2 separate regions of the Homo sapiens genome follow, and region 2 is linked to region 1. Evidence: promoter capture Hi-C in 16 types of primary human blood cells and fetal thymus (Javierre and others, 2016). All regions are on one chromosome and are shown on one strand. The core of a region is centred on a gene start or on the middle of the fragment in contact, and the rest is flanking DNA. Distances in the headings are between cores, read along the strand shown.

Region 1 (5,676 bases), core at 1,886-4,385:
AGATAGTCAGCAAAGAATACTTTTCCAGCAAGGTACAGAGGAAGCACTTGAATACATTCAAGGAACTATGATCTCCTGGCTCCCACCACCAACCCACTTCTGGCTGAGCTAGCTCCGGTGTGCACCTCAACAGAGAAGCCTCCCTGATTACTGTTTTAAAGAACAAGCTGTTCCTACCCACATCCCCTGCTGGTACTCTCGTAGCCAACCTGGCATTATTTTCTCCACCTCTGATTATCACTGAATGTAGTATTCATATCTTAATTTTGTGTCCCCCAACCCAACCGGAATGTAAGCTCCTGGGGGCCAAGGACTCTCAATTCTGTTCACTGTTCTATTCCCAACACTTAAGACAGTACCTGCCACATGCTGTGTTTTCAATAAATATCTGTTTAATAAATGGAAGTGCAATGATCCAAGACTGGGAGCAAGTTAATAGCATTTTGTGATTGAGTGAGTAGGCTGAGGAGAGATCTGACTTCAGGTCTCCAGGAGCTTAAAATGAGCAAGAACTTGATATGCTCCATCTTCAGGTGGACTAAAAGAAGAAATGGGACCAATAGGACTCATAAGGCTTTTAGGTCCAAGCTAGTGGTAGAGTGTGGGGACAGCTACTGTTTTTGCCTACCTAACATGCACTCACCCTTCTGACAGCAACCCTTGATTTTCTTTGTGTCTACCCCAACCTAATTTTGGAGGTAAGCAGATGACCTAATTTAACCAATCAGCAGCAGCAGCAGACTCCACACCTTTACTCATAGTGATTGCTTTTTGTCTGGACACATGATCTAATTCAGGCAATAAGAATCAATCCCATGACTTTTGCCAAAGCAAAAGGGAAAAAGAAACTCCTTCCAGGGCCAGGCATGGTGGCTCACATCTGTAATCCCAGCACTCTGGGAGGCCAAGGCAGGAGGATTGCTTGAGTCCAGGAGCTTGAGACCAGCCTGGGCAACATGGTAAAAAAAAAACAACAAAAAAAACCCATCTCTACAAAAAATACAAAAAGTACCTGGGCATGGTGGCATGCACCTGTGGTCCCAGCTACTTGGGGGGCTGAGGTGGGAGGATTGCTTGAACTCAGGGGGTCGAAGCTGCAGTGAGCTGTGATCGTGCCACTGCACTCCAGCCTGGGTGACAGAGAAAGACCCTGTCTCAAAACAAACAAACAAAACCTCCCTCCACAGGGACACTGCTAGCAGGAAAGATGATGAAGCTTGGAGCTGCTGGAGTCATCACCTGAATCTGAGAATAAAGCTAACAGAGGAGAGCACCACAGACACGTCAAAGGACCAGCTTGAGTTACCTCCCTGGAAGTGACCATGTCTGCAGGTACTGGAAATTTCAATCATGTGAGCCAATAAATTCCCCTCTTCTGGGGAAACACATGGAAATGGGTTTCTGTCACAACTGAAATCATCCTGACCAATGGATTTAGGGCTCTGAAGAACAAAAAGGAAATACATCATTAGGGCTCTTAAATGCCTCAAAGGGAAGCCTAACGTCAGGCAGGGTGTCCCAGAAATGCAATCTAACACCTTTTGGTGAAACTCATTGCCTGTCTTTTTGGTGAGTAGGATGGGAGCTGCGGAGAAAAAGGCCATGCTACTTTTATTAAGTATTTGCAGTTACATTTTGCAAATGATTTCAGCAACTTTATCTCAGGTGTTTTAACATCTCAGCATCTCACAGTTGTAAGAAACAGAATCAATCTTCTACTCAGTGCAGAGGGGGAGAGAGCATGATATAGCAAAAAGAGCACTGAACCAGAGTCTAACAATCTGGCTTTTCATCTTTATCTGATCACTGATTAGAGTGTGGTCTCAGACAAATCACCTTGCTTTTATTGGTCTCATGACTACCTCGTCTTCAAGCACTCACCCAACTCTGCAATGGAAAATACACTAGGACAGAGGTTCTTAATTTTTTATGGGGCCTGGGCCCTAGGAAAACACACACTGCACACATGATTTTACGTTGCATGGGGTTCACAACTCTAGAAGCCAATCTACATCTCTAACTTCTCTGCTTTACAGTAACACCAGCTTCTGCTTGAGCGCTCCTCCAGTGGGAGGGAGCTCACTACTCACAAGGAAGCCCATTGTACTACTGAACTGTACTAGAAAAATAAGTTATTCTTCATATATATATATATTTTTTGAGATGGAGTCTCACTCTGTCCCCCAGGCTGGAGTGCAGTGGCGCAATCTCGGCTCACTGCAATCTCCGCCTCCCGGGTTCAAGCGATTCTCCTGCCTCAGCCTCCTAAGTAGCTGGGATTACAGGCACGCGCCACCACGCCTGGCTAATTTTTTGTATTTTTAGTAGAGACGGGGTTTCACCACATTGGTCAGGCTGGTCTCGAACTCCTGACCTCAGGTGATCCACCCACCTCAGCCTCCCAAAGTGCTGGGATTACAGGCGTGAGCCACCGCCCCTGGCGTTCTTCTTCATATCAAACCAAGTTCTATACACTGTAATTTCTACTCATTGGTCGAAGTTCTCAATGGCAAATCAGAAAAATTGTGTTCTCGCCTGTATATGACATCTCTTCCTCTCTCTCTCTGAAGACTGTTTCTAACTAAAAAATGTAGATGATTCGCCATGCAAATTATTTTACTGTACATTGTTACAAAGATAAGTTCTTCACCTCACCCCTAATATGCCAAATGTTCAAATGTAGATGCTGAAGTCCAAATAAGCACACTGCTATTAATCTGCATAGATCTAGGTGTTGCAAAGAGGAGAACTGCTGTATAACAATATCTTGAAAGAAACAGCATAGTATTTTGGGGAAAGCACTGCATTCAGAATCAGAAGACTTGGAGTAATACTCGGTCTCACATTCCAACTACCTGTGTATCCTTGGGCACGTCACTTAACTTCTCTCAGCCTGGTTCTCTTCTGCAAAATGCGACAGGAATACAGTGAGGATTAAGTGAAATAATGTTTGTAAGCTTCTAGGGCAAGGCTGGGACATAGCAAATTCTCAATAAATAAGTGCCAGCTCCCGCGCTCAGCAGGCTCCGAGTTTTATTCGATGCGCTCGGCGCTCTTGGTCGAGCGGGATTCCCCCTCCGGAGCCCGAGTCTGCGCTCTGGGCTCGACTGAGGCTCCCTGGCCGCTCGCGCTTTTCTCTCCTTCTCCAAGATGGCGGCGATCGGCGGCGTTGAGGCGGGATCCGGGCGAGCCGAGTGAAGGTAGCGGCGAGCGGAGACCCCAGGAGACCGGGCTGGGCCCCCACCCTGAGGCGGCAGCAGCCCCGCCCCGTCGCCACCCGCCGCCCTGGGCCCGCGACATCACCTCTGGGGTGCCCCAGGCCCTTCGCGGCCTAGCCCAGGGGCCGAGCCGGGGACTGGAGTAGCGGCCGCAGCCGCCCCCAGGAAGGGGCTGGAGCGGGCAGAAGGAGGAGGGCGGGCGGGAGCTGTTCAAACGGGGAAGGCGGGAAAGCTGCGGGGCCGGGAGGGGGCGTGCGGCCGCCCCGGGGGCCTGCGGACCCGGGCCGCCCCTCCCCCTGCCCGGGCCGTCTCCGCCCTCGGGGGCGCCGTGAGGCCGCCGGAGACGCGGGAACCCGGGTTCAGGTCGAGCTGTGCGGCTCGGAACCCGCGATGCGGGGGTCCCTCGGGCTGTCAGGGGGAAAGGGCTCGTGGCCGCGGCCACGGGAGGGCTGGGGCTGCGGCTGGCAGGAGAAAGTACGAGGAGCTTTCTTCTTTTCCTCTTCACAGAGCTTTGTTGAGCTAGCTGTTGCCGCAAAACTGCCGGGAGAATCCCACTGGTTTGCCTTGGGGACCACAAAAATGGTGGTCCTGGGGGCTGTTTGTGTAAATCACCTGGTATTTTGTGTGTTTCTTGCGTGCAACCCGGCTTGGCCGTGCCTTCGTGGTGGGCGCCTTCTCCATGCAGGCCCATTTTCCCTCCACCAACTACTACTTGTAGATTCACTTTATAGCGTGCAAAAGCGGAGAAACATCTCTGTCCCCTCTTTTGGAGGGCTAAGCTGGTGGCTGATTATATTTCCTCCTAATAGAACAAAGTAAAAAACTGAATCCCAAATAAAGCCTGTTGATTGGACAAGGCTTCTCAAAATTCGATTGCTGGTCTTATGGAATGTGTGTTGTCAGCCAATCTGTGCGGTGGTCGTGGTTCCGCTTAATTGCACTGCAATGAGAGGATTCAATCCCCATCCCCGACTGTCGGGATCTCTGCAGCTTCCAGAGCTGGCAGGGGCTGGGAGTGCTGCCTAGGTAGGTCCCTGGAGAAGGGAGTGGCAAGAGGATTCGGAGTCACCGTGTTCGGAGATTGGAAGAAACCTGGACGAAGTTGAGAAGGCATCACTTGTCTGTATCGTAGAAGTAACAAGAAAATTTCAGAAATTGGCAACCGGCGGATGTGCATCTTCCTTTACCTGCACTGACTGGCATTTTGAGTTCTTGAAAGGAGTGGTTGGAAGAAGAGAATGCAGAATCTTGGACATGGCTCTCATCCTGGAACAGACCTGGAGTTCAGAATTTCTCTTACTGTCCGTGTGACGGGGCTTACTTTGTTTCCTTTTTTTCGATACTCATTTACATTATGGGGTGAAGAAGGTTGTTGATTGCAGGAGCTCAAGTTACCTCAAAAAAAGTCTGAAACCTGTTTTTTAACTGTAATTTGAAGTTTCAAAATGACAAAGTGCTATATCTGAGGACTTTTTCCTCCTGATTACTTTGGTCATCCCAAAGGCCTATGCCTGAACATAACTTGTATGCTTATCTACCAGGGAAAGAGCAACTCTGCCCCCTCCTTTTTCATATCCTGAAGAAAAGTCCCCGAAGAGCTATTTAACAATTTGTGCATTTCATAAGTATACATTTTTATGGTACCAGTTTTTTACTTGTATCAACAGTATGAAATAGTGAACTTTTACTTATGTTGTCATATCTTAGCACACTGAGACAAACAAAATTATTCTTGCCTCTTGGAGTTGACAACATTGAATTTTATAAACTCCCAAATTATTGAATTGAGACTGGGTTTTAACACCTGTTTCACATTTGCCAACATTTAATGTAATTATGACCTCCCTTTTCTAATGTGAAAATCAAACCTAATATTCATTTTCATTAATCCTCACAATCTACTCTCTACCCCTGAACTCTGAATTTTCACAGATTGTATTCAAGACCTGGAAGGAATATCAGGGGTTCATCTGATCTTATATAAATGTTGCCTGAACTCTGCCTTTCTTTCACACTGTTGCTTGAGATTTATCTGGTATCTTTCCAAAACTAAACCCTGAGCTGCAATAATATCCTGATTTTAAAGAACGTAGAAATTCAGGGCCCATCGGTCTGCCCAAGCTGTGGCTGATACAGTCCGTTGTGTTTAATTTTAGTTTTTCAAGCTCTTGGCTGCCCCAGTTCTTCAGTGAATTGGACGTGTCTTCAGGCCTCATTCCTTCTTTTTTCTTCAGGTTATTTAATCCAGTAATTTATAAAATGCTCTTCAGTGTTTTTAAGAAAATTTAAACAGTGGTAGACCTAATATATGTAATGCCAACACCACATTTTCTTGGTTGGCCTGTGCCTCTGAGAAGCAGTTCCTAATTTTCTATTCCCTCTCACAACTTTTTAATCCACTAGTTTTTTAAAGCAGCCAGTAACGAGACCACGATACAGTCATCTTTCTTTCTTTCTG
Region 2 (5,676 bases), core at 2,182-4,681, 2.8 Mb before region 1:
CACTGGTTCTCAAGGTGGCATTTCCTCCCAGGGAATAGTTGGCATCTTTGGTTCTTACAACTGGGGAGGGAGACGGTTCTACTAGCATTTTGTGGATAGCGACCATGGATGCTGCTAAACATTCTACACACAGAACCGCCTCTTGCAACAAAGACTTAAGTGGTCCAAAATGTCAATAGTGCTGAGGCTGAGAAACCCTAATCTATCCCCCACATCCTATCATAATCCCTAGTGATAGATTCACATTACAGATCTGAGCCTGCCCTAGTAGTTAGTATACACCTGTCAGATTCAAGGCTTCCCACCATCTTTTGAATAGCCTTCCCTTTTTCGGGAGGAAATTCCAATATTCTACGTCTTGCCTCCCCGAGGAAGGAGTTCAGACCCCAATTCCCAGTCTCCTTTGTAGCCAGGACCCAGGTGTGGGGCCCAGACTTCCTCAATCAGACATCCCTATGAGCTTTTGATGTGGAAGTGAGCAAGGTGAAGAAACAGGCTCTTTTGGAAGTTTGGCATTATGCAGGAGGCTGCAAAAGCATGTGGGATTTGATGTTAACAGTGGCAGTGGCAGCCATTCCCCAGTGAATCCCAGCAGTTGTGATGGCGATTTCCTCCAGCAGCAATCCCAGTCTTAGTATTTTCCTCATCAGGCCAGTTTTCAGCTTGGTTCTGAGCTTCATTCTTGGAAGCTTAGCCTGGGGCCACTTCTCCATCCTCCCTAGAATTCCCTGAGCTGTACAGCATCCTTTTAATACACACCTTTTCTGCTTAGTCAGCCAGAGTCAGCTTCTACTGCTGAAAATTAAGAACCCTGATAGTAAAGACTCCCTGCTAAAAACTGTCTAGCGGCTTCCCATACATTCTAGAATATGTCCCAAACCCTGTGCTTAGCCCAAGGCTCTTCTTTATCTGGGATGTACCTATGCTGTCCATCACTCTGGTCACACAGAGTCATCCTGGTCCTGGCACCATTCCTCACTGCTCACTACTAAAGAATCCTACGGGCATGGCAAACCTCCTCTATGTACCCTCTTAAAACCAAAATGTATTCAAACACCCATGCTAACATTCTTAAATATCTGCTAGCCATAATAAAAAAATCAATGTACTTTACAATCTTAACTCCCACAATTTAGCCTAAATATTTGCCCTAACATATTTATACTAGTTCAAACAAACATTAAGTCATAGCCTATTCCTCTTCCTTAAAGGGGTGTTGACCTTTCTCAACATTCCACAAGTTACTTCCTCCTTGCTTTGTTCTCCTCTGCCTTTGCCTCTTTTAAAAAGTTCTAAATTACTAGCCAATCAAGACAAATACAAAATATAAAGTCCCATTCCAGCCAATAAAAACCAGACACAGGCCAGGCGCGGTGGCTCACGCCTGTAATCCCAGCACTTTGGGAGGCCGAGGCGGGCGGATCAGGTCAGGAGATCGAGACCATCCTGGCTAACACGGTGAAACCCCATCTCCACTAAAATAATAATAAAATAATAATAATAATAATAATAATAATAATAATAATAATAATACAAAAATTAGCCAGGTGTGGTGGCGGGTGCCTGTAGTCCCAGCTACTCGGGAGGCTGAGGCAGGAGAATGGCGTGAACCCAGGAGGCGGAGCTTGCAGTGAGCCGAGATCACGCCACTGCACTCCAGCCTGGGCGACAGAGCGCGACTCCATCTCAAACAACAACAACAACAAAAAAAAACAAAAACAAACAAAAAACCAGACACAGCAGTAAAGTGGACACATCAGGTTATATATGACCCTGTCTCCTTTGTTCGGTGTACTCTCGTGACAAAACTGCTGGCGAGTATACCCTTTCTACAAAAAATAAAAATGGCCTTGCTAAAAAAATTAAATTTATATTCAAGTGCTATTTCTTTACAACATCAAAAAACAAACATTTCTAACAATCCCATTCCTCAGGTCTGTATTTATGTCTATCATAAAGCAGAGACTTTTTACACTCTACTGAAAGAGCTGATTCACTCAACTGTAAACTTTGCATGGGCAGAAACATGTCTTTTTGGTCTCTTGAGTCTCCAGCATGTGGGGTATCTGTCACAAAGTAGGCAATCAATACATATTTATTTGCAGAATCAAGGGCAGGATGTGGACAAGTGCTGCCACCTATTGGGAGAAACTTTATTTGACTCTAAGGATTTGGACTATGGTTATCACACAAGGACGAAACTTGATACTCTCTCTCATCTAAGTTATCATTAGTTAGACCCTCTATGGTAGCCAGCCTCCAGGATGGCCCGCAGCGATCCCTGTCTGTTGGCATTCATACCTTTGGCTGGATCCTCTCACACATAGGGTTGGTTTGTAAATATGACAAAAGCCGTATGTGACCTCTGGAGCTAGGTCATAAAAGACATTGTGGCTTATACCTTGGTCTCTCTGGGATCACCTGCTCTGAAGGAAGCCAGCTGCCATGTCATGGGGACACTCAAACAGCCCTATGGGGAGGTTCACGTGGTGAAAACAGGTCTCTGGCCAACAGTCATGACTGTGCCATCCTGGAGGCCGATCCTCCAGCCCTAGTCAATAACTGCTGCCCTGGCCTACAGTTTGTAATCTCATGGGAGACCTGGAGACAGAACCACCCAGCCACGCATCCCCAAATCCCTTTACCTCTAAAACCTGTGGGACAACAAATGTTTATTGCGTTAAACTTTGGGGTGATTGTTATGCAGCCACAGAGTTCTAATAAACTGTCGGACATAGATTACTGGCTACAAATAGTTCTACTTTTTTTTTGAGACAGGGTCTCGTTCTGTGGAACCAGGCTGAGGTGCAGTGGTGCGATCACAGCTCATTGAGGCCTCGACCTCCGGGCTCAATCGACCCTCCCGCCTCAGCCACCCAACTAGCTGGGACTACAGGCAGGCGCCACCACACCTAATTTTTTGTATTTTTTGTAGAGATGGGGGGGGGGGTTTCACCATGTTGCCCAGGCTGGTCTCGAACTCCTGGGCTCAAACGATCCACCCGCCTCGGCCTCCCAAAGTGCTGGGATTACAGGCGTGAGCCACCGCGCCCGGCCAACCTAAGGATTAACCTAAGGCTTCTCAGAGCAGATGCCGCTGGAACTGAGGGCCACGGAAGAAAGGGGGTGACACTTGGTCCTGGGGAGTGGCGACTGTATTGTCTGTCTGCAGCATCCCTATCAGCGCTACCGTTGTTCCACGCACACAGGGAGTAAGTACTGGGAGTCCCAGCCACCGCCGCGGAAAATCTGGGATGCCAGCGAGCGGCCGCATCTCGGCGCCTGCGCACTGTGCCCGCGCTCTCAGGCAGCGCCGTTGCGCGCGGAGTCATCGATCGGCCGACCCCGAGAGGCCCGGTTCCTTTAGGCCGCCTGCCCGCCTCCAGCTCTCGGGGTCGGCTCCAGGAGGCGCCCTCAGGAGAGGGGCGGGCGCTCTATTCCAGAGACCGAGTGGCAGGGCGGCCACTGTGGCGGGGCTCTTTCCCCGTTTCGCCTCAGCTACCCCTCAGCTCCGGTAGTCGCCAGTCCGGGGTCGTCGCCGTTTGGGGCGGGAGCTGCTCGGCCCCGCCGCCGTCCCCGTCGCCGCTTCCGGGTCCAGGCCCCTCGGGCCGCCTGCCGCCGTCATGAGGCTGCGGGTGCGGCTTCTGAAGCGGACCTGGCCGCTGGAGGTGCCCGAGACGGAGCCGACGCTGGGGCATTTGCGCTCGCACCTGAGGCAGTCCCTGCTGTGCACCTGGGGGTACAGGTACGCTGGGGCCGGGGCTGGGCGGCCCGCGGGGAGTGGGGAGTGCTTGGGGTGGGTGCAGGGCGGGTTGGCGTCATCTGTGGGCTGCAGGCGCGGGCGTGGCCGGGCGATAGGCCAAGTGCGGGGACGCCGGGGGGGCCTTCACGGGAGGCCCGGGCTCTTCCGGGCGTCGCGGAGCCGGAGGGTGCAGGCGACGGGAAGCGCGGGTGGTCGGCTGGGGTCCGGCTCCTGGAGAACATGGCCCGGCCTCCCGGGGGCTCTGGTCCCCTCCTCGGTGAGTCATGGCTTCTGGTTTTGCAGTAAACGGAACCAGGGAGAGGAGGGAACGCACAATTTCCACAACTGGTTAGATTTCAAGTTGGAAATGATGAGCTTGGCTTGGGTTAAACCTTTCTGGACTGTGAGGGGTCCGAGTTAATTTCTTCAGCTGTTGGAGTATTTCAATGAAAAAGTTTGGAAATTGCTAGAAGTTAAAAATCTGCCCTCAATCCGAGGCCACCGGTAGCTTGTATCGCTGCTGTGAAGCGGCAACAATTTTAGATTCTGTTGTGTTCATGCGCCGAGCACCGCGGTGAGCGCTTGGACTTCGCCGCCGAAAAGTTTTAGAAAGGACAGCGTGTAGGCGTGTTTCAGACCATTTCATTTTCTTGGGTGAAATGTTGCTTTTTTGCTAAAACTGAGGCAAACGTTGATCTTGAGAGCTTGCAGTTTGGGGGCAGTAAAGTTGAGAAAGGATCATATTCTGTTATTGGTTTGTGGGACTGCAGGTGAAGCTGCTTTGTTTCCCTAAAAGATACTTTTTGGGGACAATAATTTGGGAGTAAAGCGGCAAGGTAAGAGTGGTCCTCTTCAAATACTGAGCTAGTGAATTTGAAACTTGAGTGTGCTAAGGAAAAATGAAAAAGATGTTCCCTGGGGATTTTTAGGTGAATTCTTCAAAACAAAAGCAAACCTTCCTACGTTTTCACCTTATTTTTAGGGAATTGGGTAAAATGAGGCCGTTATTCTGAACTTCTCGCCCTTTCATTTTCCTGGTTAAGACATTATTAGATTGAAAGTAAGCCTGTTTTCTTCCTGATTAAAAAAAAAACCCTAAATAAGATACTGACATAACTCCTTTTAAACATTATAGTAAGTGACATGCCTACTGTTATTTCTTGTTGTTAAACCTGTGTGTTTTACATACTGGCATCGTTACCAGTAGGTTACGAGTAGAAGATTGAATAAATCTTCAAACTTATTTTTTAAAGGTATTACCAAGTATATATATATTTTATTATTTTTAAATTAGGCAGTCTTGAAAGGACGTGAAACTCAATATGACTGCCCAAAAGGGCACGTTGGTTTCTCTTTCAGATTTCTTTTTACAGTTGAGGCTGGTTACCTGGACAGAATTTAAGCTTCAGCTTGTGAAAGTAAACTCATTTTTTCTGAAAGTATACTCATTTTCTAATAAAGGTGCAGTTTTAAAATATGTCCATGTGATATTATTTTAAAAATATCTTTACTGAGCAAGTGGAGCTAGGATTGTCATGAAATGCTTTTATTTGTTTTGTTTTTGTTTTTTAAGAGAAAAGTGAAAGCAAGTTTATTAAGAAAGTAAAGGAATAAAAGAATGGCTACTCCATAGGCAGAGCTGCCATGAAATACTTCTAAGAAGGCTGGAGTTTCTAGAATTTCATTTCCTGGAATTAAATACTCCTCTTAACGCCCCAATTTCAGAGGTAGAATCCTGGAAAACTATATATTACTTTAGAAATAGCTTTTCCCTTTTTCTAAAGTGGGAGGAAGAGCTGGTATATTTATTAAGCGGACCATGACCTTTTCTGCAAACAGATACTTGAACGTACCTTGTACTAGATACTGTTTTAAAAAGCAACCTTTTGCTGTGACAAATGACCCATAAACACATAGTTCATTTGAGGTGTTTT

What was found. The method cuts DNA at HindIII sites, captures the fragments that hold promoters and counts their contacts. A CHiCAGO score of 5 or more calls a contact.
Region 2: the fragment with the promoter of FBXO7 here is called in contact with the fragment with the promoter of HMGXB4 in region 1 in 1 of 17 cell types (total B cells); the score reaches 8.4 in total B cells.

The regions. Positions count from the first base shown.
Region 1 is chr22:35,254,358-35,260,033 of GRCh38, forward strand. It overlaps HMGXB4 (HMG-box containing 4), which reads left to right and starts at 3,136. Exons shown (of 11, transcript NM_001003681.3): 1 at 3,136-3,200. LOC105373017 (a long non-coding RNA gene) reads right to left here. Exons shown (of 4, transcript XR_938210.3): 1 at 3,831-5,676; 2 at 2,856-2,904. RefSeq lists an enhancer at 2,430-2,930 and a silencer at 3,196-3,695. The HindIII fragment of the contact is 10,131 bases long and covers 2,956-5,676 here.
Region 2 is chr22:32,471,380-32,477,055 of GRCh38, forward strand. It overlaps FBXO7 (F-box protein 7), which reads left to right and starts at 3,432. Exons shown (of 9, transcript NM_012179.4): 1 at 3,432-3,745. The coding sequence starts at 3,624. RefSeq lists enhancers at 2,407-2,466, 3,192-3,692, 3,355-3,524, 3,693-4,193, 3,779-3,948 and silencers at 3,513-3,702, 3,713-4,022. The HindIII fragment of the contact is 4,456 bases long and covers 688-5,143 here.